2 separate regions of the Homo sapiens genome follow, and region 1 is linked to region 2. Evidence: promoter capture Hi-C in 16 types of primary human blood cells and fetal thymus (Javierre and others, 2016). All regions are on one chromosome and are shown on one strand. The core of a region is centred on a gene start or on the middle of the fragment in contact, and the rest is flanking DNA. Distances in the headings are between cores, read along the strand shown.

Evidence for each region. The method cuts DNA at HindIII sites, captures the fragments that hold promoters and counts their contacts. A CHiCAGO score of 5 or more calls a contact.
Region 1: a fragment that was not itself captured here is called in contact with the fragment with the promoter of GLRX2 in region 2 in 4 of 17 cell types (total CD4 T cells, total CD8 T cells, naive CD8 T cells and 1 more); the score reaches 7.0 in total CD4 T cells.

What each region holds. Positions count from the first base shown.
Region 1 is chr1:194,298,185-194,303,394 of GRCh38, reverse strand. The region is part of intron 2 of LOC107985242 (a long non-coding RNA gene); the gene reads left to right. LOC105371670 (a long non-coding RNA gene) reads left to right here and starts at 3,449. Exons shown (of 3, transcript XR_922390.2): 1 at 3,449-3,488. The HindIII fragment of the contact is 1,748 bases long and covers 420-2,167 here.
Region 2 is chr1:193,103,650-193,109,266 of GRCh38, reverse strand. GLRX2 (glutaredoxin 2) reads left to right here and starts at 3,853. Exons shown (of 4, transcript NM_197962.3): 1 at 3,853-4,003. The coding sequence starts at 3,885. LOC124904474 (a long non-coding RNA gene) reads left to right here. Exons shown (of 2, transcript XR_007066776.1): 2 at 1-187. RefSeq lists silencers at 3,675-3,914, 3,694-3,988, 3,965-4,064. The HindIII fragment of the contact is 5,966 bases long and covers 1-5,367 here.

The DNA of each region.
Region 1 (5,210 bases), core at 44-2,543, 1.2 Mb before region 2:
TATCACATAGTGCTCAATAAATTTTTGAATGAATAAATGATATTAAAGAATGAATAGGCATTTATCAATTGTGTAAGAGAGAAAGAAAAAACATCCTAAGCAAGAAGCTGGCATATAAAAGTCAAAGAAATCCCTGAAGATGGTACTGTAAGAATATATGCATATTAGAGAACAGAAGCAGATGTGGTTGGAGAGATAGACAGGGGACATGGCTTCCTGCATCATTTACATACTGGGCCAAGTCTAAGGTTTTTTTTTTTTTTTTCATTTCTGAGCCAGGAAAATTGTGATAAAAACACAATAATATATATTTTCTGTTTTTAAATGGCTATCCTCTAGCCCTTGCCAATGGCTTACCTACATGCTCGTATTATCTTGTTAATTTGAAAAGGAAAAGTTAAGCAGACACTTTATAAGCTTCTTATCAAGAAACACAATAGTAAGTCAATAGCACACCTTCTGGGTATGTTGCATGTGAAGAGACAGTAAATTAAGAACTATATTCCATATTCAGATATTTTTTGAGGTTTATTGCTTCTTCAGTGTTAGAACATTTTAATTGGTTTCTTTTAACTTTGAAAAATATACTCTAGAGATAAATTCATTTATAATAAAGGTCACTACCTAACATTAAAAGGCAGTATTTCCATTAACATTTTATGTGCTGGTATATTTAACAACAGTGAAAAGACACTTTAAGGAAGCCTCCTCTTGTTTTAAAAGGTCAATACACAAAATGTATTTTAAAAATTCTATATTAATAGACCACATTCTATAATTCAAAATTATTTAAAAACTATTAGAAACAGAAAATAACCAAATAATTTACCAATATACAAAATAAAACATTGACGTACTAAATAATATTCAAACAGTGAGGTTCTTTTTGATTCAACTTATGGTTTTATCAACAATGGGGAGAATTAAAAGGGTAGATAATGCCTATATGGGCAAAGCGAAACTTTGAGCAATTGTATAATAAACTTGGTAAATTAGTTTTGGCTATATAATCCTATGTTTAAAATACCGGATTTCTTTCTGTCTCCTCTTGCTTTTCCTCAAGAGCATCATATTCATTGATAAGAGAAGAACTTGTTCTAATTTCTGTTCTGCCATTCCTGGTTGTGCAGACCTGGGCTAGTTACAAGAGTTGGTTTGAGGGCAAAATCAGATAATGCATGCAGAAGTTCTGACACATTTTAAGTGTTAATTAAATATTAGCCTTTCTCTCTAATTTTAGTATCTTCTTCTACTCTTCACTCCCTCAAACTGCTGTTTCTCAAGGACTCCCTTATGGATAGGAAAGCGATACAGTTATTAACCCACTACATAACCTCTGGTATGGCTTCATGTTTAAATGAATATTTATTGATTAATATAGAGAGAGTTATGATAATAATAACTCATTAAGTACTTAATATTTGGCAGACACTAGCCTTCATGTTTTCTTATATAAATTTGTTTTATTTTCTTGGTAACTCCTTGAATAGATGCAATCATTATCTTGTTATGATATAGAAGGTAACTGAAGCATAGAACAAGTACTGCGTTTTTTTTTTTTATAGTAACAGAACCTTTAAGTGGGAGAACAGAATTTAAATACATAAAACTTGGCCCTGTATTCTGTTCTCTTGGGCACTGCTCTAGGTTTAGGGAGAAAGAGGGATACCATTTGCAGAACCCATATTTTCAGTGTGTTTGAGAAATAAGGTATTCAGATATGCTTATTTAACCATAAGGCCATCATTGTTCATCCTAATAATACAACTCATATTGTTGCTGAAATATTTTACATAAATGTCTAGCATTATATTTAGTCTGTGGTTTTGCAGACCCTATGATTTCTCAAATCAGGAGATCTCCAGTGACAGTTTTGTTACATGTTAGAGTGAATTTAAAGTGTTTTGATTATGTTTTATTTATTTTTTGAGGCAGAAATACTGTTGAATGAGAGGGGAGACTTCATATTTGCTTTGCATAGAAAAAATAAACATTTTATTTCTTTTTTCAGTTTTTTTTTGTGGGGGTTGAGAGTGGTTCTGTTTTCCAAATATTTTCATATATCCTCCATAGAACTTTAAATGATGTTTCACATGGTGTACAGGCTCAACAATATCTCCTGACAGGCAAGAATAGGAATAAAATAGTGAAGAATCCTTTCTAAGCTTGTATTCTGGGTAGTGAGACTTTGAATAATGAGGCCAAGGCAGCAATTTTCATCTCTATGTGGCCTCTTAGGCTCTGCTCTGCCGTAGTGTCATGAGCAGCAAGCTTATACTCTAAAGAATGAAGTGTGCTGCCATACCCGAAGGCAAAGCCCATCTGCTTGTTCTATTTTTCTTCTCATGCTCAGCCAAGTTCTAGAGAATAATAGTCCTGGGCTACAGGAAAGCATTCAGCTACCACAGCTTCCTAAACTAAAATTTCTGACATATGGCTCATGATAGGAAATGTTCAAATAAATAAGCTTAGGTCTAGGTGCTGTTCTGGATCCAGTCCCTAAGATTGAACTGCCATTTGGAGTAGAGATCTATTTACAAGTACGAATGTTATATATTCAGAATGAAGTATAGATACCATAGCGAATGAGTCAGCAACCTAGGTCCTCATTCCAAATAAACAGCAATAGTTTGTTCAAATCAGAAAACAACAACAACAGAAACAAACAAACATTATTGGGTAGATGATAAAACAAACCTGGGAAGCAATGGCTATCAGGCATATTTGTTGAAAATGTTCTATACTTAGGCAGAAGGTATGCATTCTGGTAACTTGGAGGGAAACTAATAAAAGTTGGCAGGAGCTCAATCCTAGAAGGAAACTTAGTCATAGGGACATGACAATGAAGGACAAAGTCTAAGGGAAATATGGCACAGAGGAGAGCTTGGCAGTTGGTAATGAAATGAGAAAGCAAGAGAGATTGATTTCTTCTCATGTTACTCCTCATGGTTGGCAGGGTATACGTATACCCTGAATATGGTCAGGGTTTACCACTGGGCTGGAGATAGTTTTAAGCATCCTGATGACCAGATCTCATGGAGAGCAAAGTAAATTGCATTGGAACTGACACTCATTTCTTTTGTATTGGGATAATCTTTCTAATCACAGATGGAATGGTTGATTTGTATTTCAGGATAAGTTACTCCCATTGACCATCTTCCCATTTCCCCCACCTCTCATCTTCTCATAACCGTCATTGTGCTCTCTACCTCTATGAATTCAATTATTTTAGATTCCACATTTAAGAAAGAATATGTATTTTTCTTTCTGTGCCTGGCTTATTTTACTTAGCATAATGTCCTCTAGATTCATCCATGCTTCTGCAAATGACAGAATATCTGTCTTTTTTTTTTTTTTTTTTTTTTTCCGGAATCTCGCTCTGTAGTCCAGGCCGGAGTGCAGTGGTGTGATCTCGGCTCACTGCGACCTTCATCTCCTGGGTTCAAGAGATTCTCCTGCCTCAGCCTCCTGACTAGCTGGGATTACAGGTGTGCACCACTACACTCGGCTAATTTTTGTATTTTTAGTAGAGACGGGGTTTCACCATTGTGTGTGTGTGTGTTTGTGTGTGTGTATGTGTGTGTATACTTGGAGGAATAAATGATAAGTATTTGAGATGGTGGATATGTTACTTAGACTCAACATTCCACACTTATACGTATTATTGGATCACTTTGTATCTCATAAATATCTACAAGTATAATTTGTCAAAGTTCAATAAAATTAAATTTTAACAAAATGATGCCCCTGGCCCAGATTTACAACCCTCTACCAAAAAATTGAGAATCAGCAGAAAATTATTCTTGCAGCTTTAGAGATACAGATTTTATTTTTAAATACAGAAATGAGTTCATTTTACACTCAGAAATACGACAAGATGGGCGCTTTTCTATGTTTCTCTGTGCTTAGAAACTGAAGCTTACTTCACCCTTTATCCAGCAGTGGAATCAGGTAAAAAATATCCCAACCATGGATTTTGGAATATTTACAAGCCTAAAGAGTGGGTTAGAGAAAGGTTCCTAGACTAGAAACAGAAGAAGGAAAGAGGAACTACTAAAGGAATGGAGAAGTTAAAGGAATATGAACAACCAGAATGATAAGTATATGCAGGAAAATAAAGGGAGCCTGAAAAGGGCTCATTCCACAGGTTAAATACTTCCATGTGACAACGCCTGAGCAAAGAAGACCCATGCTCAAGATTCAGGCTCAGGGATGTACAAGCCAGGCTGTGTGCATCATGGACATATGGTTGAAATATGATTTTCCTATTGCTCACCAACTGTCTTTACACACACTTTATCTTCAGCAGGCTAATGGGACCCCTTCAACAATAACAACAGGAAGGCTAAAATTTTCAGTCTTCAATCACTTAAACCATAAACTCGTAGGGCTGTTAATCTTTCTCTGACTGCTTTCCCCAGTTAGATTGCTTTCTCTTTTGACACTTATAATCCTTTGCTTTGTTTTGTCATTTATTTGTCAGGACTACATAATGAAGATCATATTTTTTGAAAAATATTTACTTTTATATTTTAGGTTCCCTTTGTTTGGGATTATTCTTTAGTCGGCCAGAGGCAACTATTTGCTTCAGGGATAAATAGGATTTACAGGAGGACTACAAAAAGAAAGAAGTAAAAAAAAAATAGGTTCACCTTTGGATTGCTAGAGTATCATCTCATGACAATTGTTTTGAAAACCAAGCATATTCAGAAGATTTTAAAACTTTCACTTTCCATTGACATATAAAGAAACTTTTTGTTGATTAGGTCATATAAATTTAATAAATCCAGGATGTTAAGCTGAGTAAGAATTCAATTTAATATGAAATATTAAAAGCCCCAATCATAAGAGAAAGAAATAAAAAAGCCAATAATTTATAGTCCCAGAGGATACTGTGAAGGGAGAAAGGGTCAAGCTCATGAGATATATGTGTGCTGATCCCTGGAGGACTGAGAGTCTGAAGTGGGTTCAAAGGCTGAAAGGAAAACTGAGAGCACAGGGATGGATGTTAGCCTGCTTTCTGTATGTAAACTTGGGAAGAGCCTGCTATGCAGGGTGACTTTATTCCATCATGGAGGCTGATAGACCACTAGCAAGTCAAGTCTAGCATCCAGAGTGTGACATATAGATACACAATTCTGATGCAATGCTCCCTGTACATTGCATCAGGGAATTGATGCAATCAAATCAGCAGAATTGAAAGTCTGACT
Region 2 (5,617 bases), core at 2,604-5,103:
AGTAGAGGGCAGTAAAAGTAAGGCATATGACAGAACTAGATTTGTTGGTTTATTTGCTCTTTCAACACGGATTTTTAAATATGGAAACACAGACAAGTCATGCTTGCTTTTTTAAACCAACAAATTAAAATTGCGAACATGGCTAATTTCAAATCAGATTAAATAAAAAATTTCTGCATGGAAAGCATGTAATAGCTTTTGTCTTCTTCCTTACCACCTGGAGAGCTCTTCCCCTTCCCTTCTCCCTCTGCCCCCACCTTGTCTGCCTAACTCTTACTCTTGTTAAAACCTTAGGTTACAAGTTTCTTCCTCTGCCATTCCTTCCAAAATATCAAATTCAATTTAGGCCTTCCTCTTATGTATTATCCTAGGTTTTCATGAATGCTAGTGTCATTTCTGTGCTGTTCACTACAGTGCTTGGCACATAGTGGGCACATAAAATTTATAGAATTCAGGAACAAGAGGTTAACTATGGAATCCCATTATTTAATGGTGAGGGACTGAATATATAAATGGATAATGGGCAGAACACACATGACAATAAAACTCTGACTTCGAGCAAACAGACCAGAACAATTAGAACTTGGTTAATGACTACCAGCTTTCCAAATATGCTCCCCAAACCAGTCATATAGGATGCTTCCCTTCCAGTTGGCCTGCCTTCACGTCTTCATGCCAACAACTTTTTTTTTTTTTTGAGATGGAGTCTCACTCTGTCACCCAGGATGTAATGCAGTGGAGCCATCTTAGCTCACTGCAACCTCTGCCTCCCGGGTTCAAGCAATTCTCCTGCCTCAGCCACCAGAGTAGCTGGGAGTACAGGCATGCGCCACCACACCCAGCTAATTTTTTTTTGTATTTTTAGTAGAGACGGGGTTTCACCATATTGGCCAGGCTGGTCTCGAACTCCTGACCTTGTGATCCACCTGCCTCAGGCTCCCAAAGTGCTGGGATTACAGGCGTGAGCCACCATGCCTGGTCTGTCACTTTACTTTTAAAATGTACAACTTGATATTTTGATACATGTATATGTCTTAGTCCATTTTCTGTTGCTTATAACAGAATATCTGAAGCTGAGTAATTTGTATATAAATTGTTCTTACAGTATTGAATGCTGAGAAGTGCAAGGTCAAGAGGTCACATCTGGTAATGACCTTCTTGCTGGTGGGAACTCTGCAGATTCCCCAAGCCATGTAGGACATCATGGGACAAGGCAGCAGAGAACTCTGTTTTATAAAGCTGCCAGTTCTACTCCCATGATCACCCATTAATCCATTCATTCATGTTCCAGCTCTCATGCCCAATCATCTCTCAAAGGCCCCACCTGTCAGCACTGCCACATTGGACAGTTTCAACATAAGTGTCAGAGGGGACAAACATTCATTCCAAAGCCTGATACACTGTATAATAACTATCACAATCAAGCTAATTAACATAGCCACCACCTTTCATATTTACCATTTTTTTCTATTCCCTTTATTTTCTTCTCTCTTTTTCTTTCTTTCTTTTTTTTTCCAGACAGTCTTACTCTGTCGCTCAAGTTGGAGTGCAGTGACGCAATCTCAACTCACTGCAACCTCTGCCTCCCAGGTTCAAGCGATTCTCCTGCCTCAGCCTCCCGAGTAGCTGGGATTACAGGCGCGTGCTACCATGCTCGGCTAATTTTTGTATTTTCAGTTGAGATGGGGTTTCATCATATTGGCCAGGCTGGTCTTGAACTCCTGACCTCAGTTGATCCACCCATCTCAGCTTCCCAAAGTGCTGGGATTACAGGCGTGAGCCACCGCACCTGGCCCCATTTTCTTTCTTGTGTGCAAGTGTGAGAACACAAGATCTACCCTCTTAGCAAATTTCAAGCATACATTGCGATTTTCCTAACTATAGTCACATTGCTGTACTTTAGCTCTCTAGAACTTACCTATCTCGCATAATTGAAACTCTGTACCCTTTGACCAACATCTCCCCATTTCCACCTTCTCCCAGGCCCTGGCAACCACCGTTCTACTGTCTGCTGACATATTTCTTAACTTGCTATTGCAGTCATCACAACTATGACCAAAAATAATAATCACTTCTGTAGCTACCCCACGAAGCACAAAGAAGTTGAAAATTATCAATATATTTATTAATATATTATGCTGAATTCAGGCATAACACTTTCTTCTGAAGTACTTTACATTCTGAAATCCTTAAAAAAATCTGTCCAGTGAATTCTGTGCTTGATAATAGTCCATCTATGCTGTATTAAAATTAAATTGTAACATGATCGGTTCACCTCATAATGATCTTTATTTCATAAAACAATTTGAGATGAGGTAAAATTTGACTTCAAAACTAACATAACACCATAAATTTCCAAAATAGTTTTATAAAAAAATTAAAAAGCCCACAACACTATAGATAGATAACATACCTTAATTTTTATTTTATTTTATTTATTTATTTTTTTATGAGACGGAGTTTTGCTCTTGTTGCCCAGGCTGGAGTGCAATCGTGTGATCTTGGCTCACTGCAAACTCTGCCTCATGGATTCAAGCGATTCTCCTGCCTCAGCCTCCCGAGTAGCTGGGATTACGGGCATGCGCCACCACGCCCGGCTAATTTTGTATTTTTAGTAGAGACGGCGTTTCACCAATATTGGAGGGGCTGGTCTTGAACCCCCAACCTCAGGTGACCCGCCCGCCTCGGCTTCCTAAAGTGCTGGGATTACAGGACTGGCCACTGCGGGAGCTGCGGCAGCTGCGGCCTCTGGGTACGGGGTCAGCGGGCAGTCCTGTAATGGCCACATTACAGGACAGGCCATCGCGCCTGGCCACATGCCTTAATTTTCAAAGTCAAATTTGTCTTTAAAAAGAATGAATTCCTACCCTTTGGGGGTATTTATTTTTGCAACTAACTTCCATCCTTTTATTAAGTAATCAAACATAGCCCATTTGAATGTTGGAAAAGAACTGTCAGAAATACAAGTTCTTATTTTGTACTTTGGTAACATGAATTTTACACTTAGTTGAACATGAAGAATCAAAAAAGCTCTGGATTGTTGTAATAATTGTTTAGAATTTTAGATGTACCATTTGACCTTTGACTTTAAGATGAATTTCAGTGTCCTCAGTAAATAAAGGCTTACCCCCAACCTTAAATAGTGACGCACAAAGGCTATTATTACCACCACTGAGTGGCTTAAATAATCCTGTCAACAGCAATCGCCCATTTCCAAAGCCATGGTGAAACATCTCTGTGCTAATTTCTTTTGTTTTGTTTCCTAATTTTTTTTTTTTGGCAGGTGGTGGGAAATAATCTTTGTCTTCTTTGGAGTAAACCTTCAACACCGGATTTTTTCTTTTAATTATGGATGTAAACCCCAATATCCCCATAATTTACATTGGGTCTCGACCAATTGCCTAATTATAAGAGGATATATTTAGGCTCTTATTTCATCCACACAAAAACTTGTGTAACAGGTAGTTGGAAACATCTGAGGCACCACTTTGATTCTGTTTTGGATGGTCATGTTTTTTCTCCTCCGTTTCCCCAGCATGTCTGCCACCATCCTCATGCACTGCTTCCAAGTGCCTGGGAGCCTTTATGAGCGTCCCTAAACCTAAAAGAATCCAGAGGCGGGGCTCGGATGAACCCTCGAGATAAGCAAGTGAGCCGCTTCTCCCCTCTAAAGGATGTTTACACGTGGGTGGCACTCGCTGGAATCCAGCGCTCGGGCAGCCCTGGGAGGACGCGCTCAGCTGCGAGGAGGTGACCGGCGGCGGCGCGGGCAGTCCGGAGGGGCGGGACGGGGCGGGGCAAGGCGGGGGCCGGGCCGGAGGAGGCGGGCTCCCGGGATCCGCGGTGTCCGGCAGTAGAGCTCGCTGCAGATCCGGGCTCTGACCATGATTTGGCGCCGCGCGGCGCTGGCGGGGACGCGGCTGGTTTGGAGCAGGAGCGGCTCGGCAGGCTGGCTTGACAGGGCGGCGGGAGCTGCGGGAGCTGCGGCAGCTGCGGCCTCTGGGTACGGGGTCAGCGGGCAGGAGTGCCGCGGCGTGGTGCGCAGGCCTTGCGGGGGTCTGGAGAAAGCGGTGGGCGGAGGTGCCCCTTTGCCCCGGCGCCGGGTGGGCGAGGCGTACTAGCGCGTGGGCTCTGAGTCATAACACGCAGAGGCGCTCGAGGGATGGGCAGGGAAGGGTGCCCTCCGCGGCTGTGCTGACTTCAGGAGCCTGTGACTCTCGCGTTGAAAATACTTCACTCATGTTCACTTAGGCCATCCCTCTGTGAATTGCTACATAAAATACAAGACGCCGCAATCAATTGGAATTTCTCTGAAAGAGCGAATGATTCTTAGTCCAAGTGTGTCCCAAATACTGCAGTGGACATAGGAAAAACGGAACAGTTTTCTGGTGTTTGGTTACAATTCTAATTTGACCGGGCGTCCTGCATTCTTGTTTGCTAAACTTAGCCACCCTACTGCAGGAAGTGAAGGCGATGATTCCCGCTGAATGGCCAGAGCTTTTAGGATAGAGGCTGACTGATGGTGATGCCGCCTGCGGCTAGACCGAGGATAGTGCTTTCCTTACACTTCCTCGTTTGGAATATCAGCGGCTTCGGGACCTGCAGTGGAAGGGAACTGCGGCTGTGCTGCCCACGCCCGCGCGGCTGGTGCCTGGCGGTCCTGCCGGCTCGCACTTCCGCGCCTGCCACTGCGCACTTGGCCGGAGAGTCTGTCTCGCTATCTACTTGATCTGGGAGCTTCTATCAGTTTTGCAAGATTCTAGGAATCTCAAGTTTAACTTTCCAGACCAAGCTAGAGACCCCTCCTGAAGGGCTAATCACAGGCTGTTAAGTGTTTGACAGCTCTTTGAGGCCCCGCCGTGTTTTTTTCTGCGTATCCCTGGGGTCAATATAGCACTTTGCCTACTTAGCACACAGTAGGCGCTCCATAAATGTGGCATGACTAGGTGCTTCATCTGTGTTGAAATGAAATGTTTATTGTGCACTTACTTCCTCCGTGCATGTTTCTATTCATAGTTCGCGACAGTTTTTACCAAGGTCAACTAGAAATTGAAGGGAAAGGGTGTCTTCCAGAAACTTTTATTTGGGTAATATTTCAGAATGCACCTCCTACCTCCTCTCACTACCCAAGAAAACATTCTCTTGTGTTCTATTGGAGCTCCTTCAGTAGTAAATGCTGTAGTAGATGGTTTGGGTATGACAGTTTAAGTGCTGGACCTGAGATGAAAGGACTTGCTTTCTTAGTTGATAAACCAAATACAGCTTGCTGATTTATTCCACCAATGCTCTTCCTTAGGGCTAGGCCAGTGCTGCCTAACCTTTTCTGGTTTAGGCTTCAGGAACTCAACTTTCTTTTATCTTAAAGCTTCACCCTCCTCTCAGGTTGGCTGCAGTCTCCCTAGCTCGCTACCCTTAACTCCTTCCTGAGTTAAGCGCACAGGACTTTTTTTTTTGTTTTAAAGTGTTCCTTGCTAATACTATTAGGAAGCAAGGAATAATAGATTGTAAACATTGGGTAGGTTATAATGTTATAATGTTTAATTCCTGTCTCTTACTCTTCTTTGTTATAACTGAACAAACTGATGTTTGCTGTAGCTTCCTCACTCTAGGTGAGCTG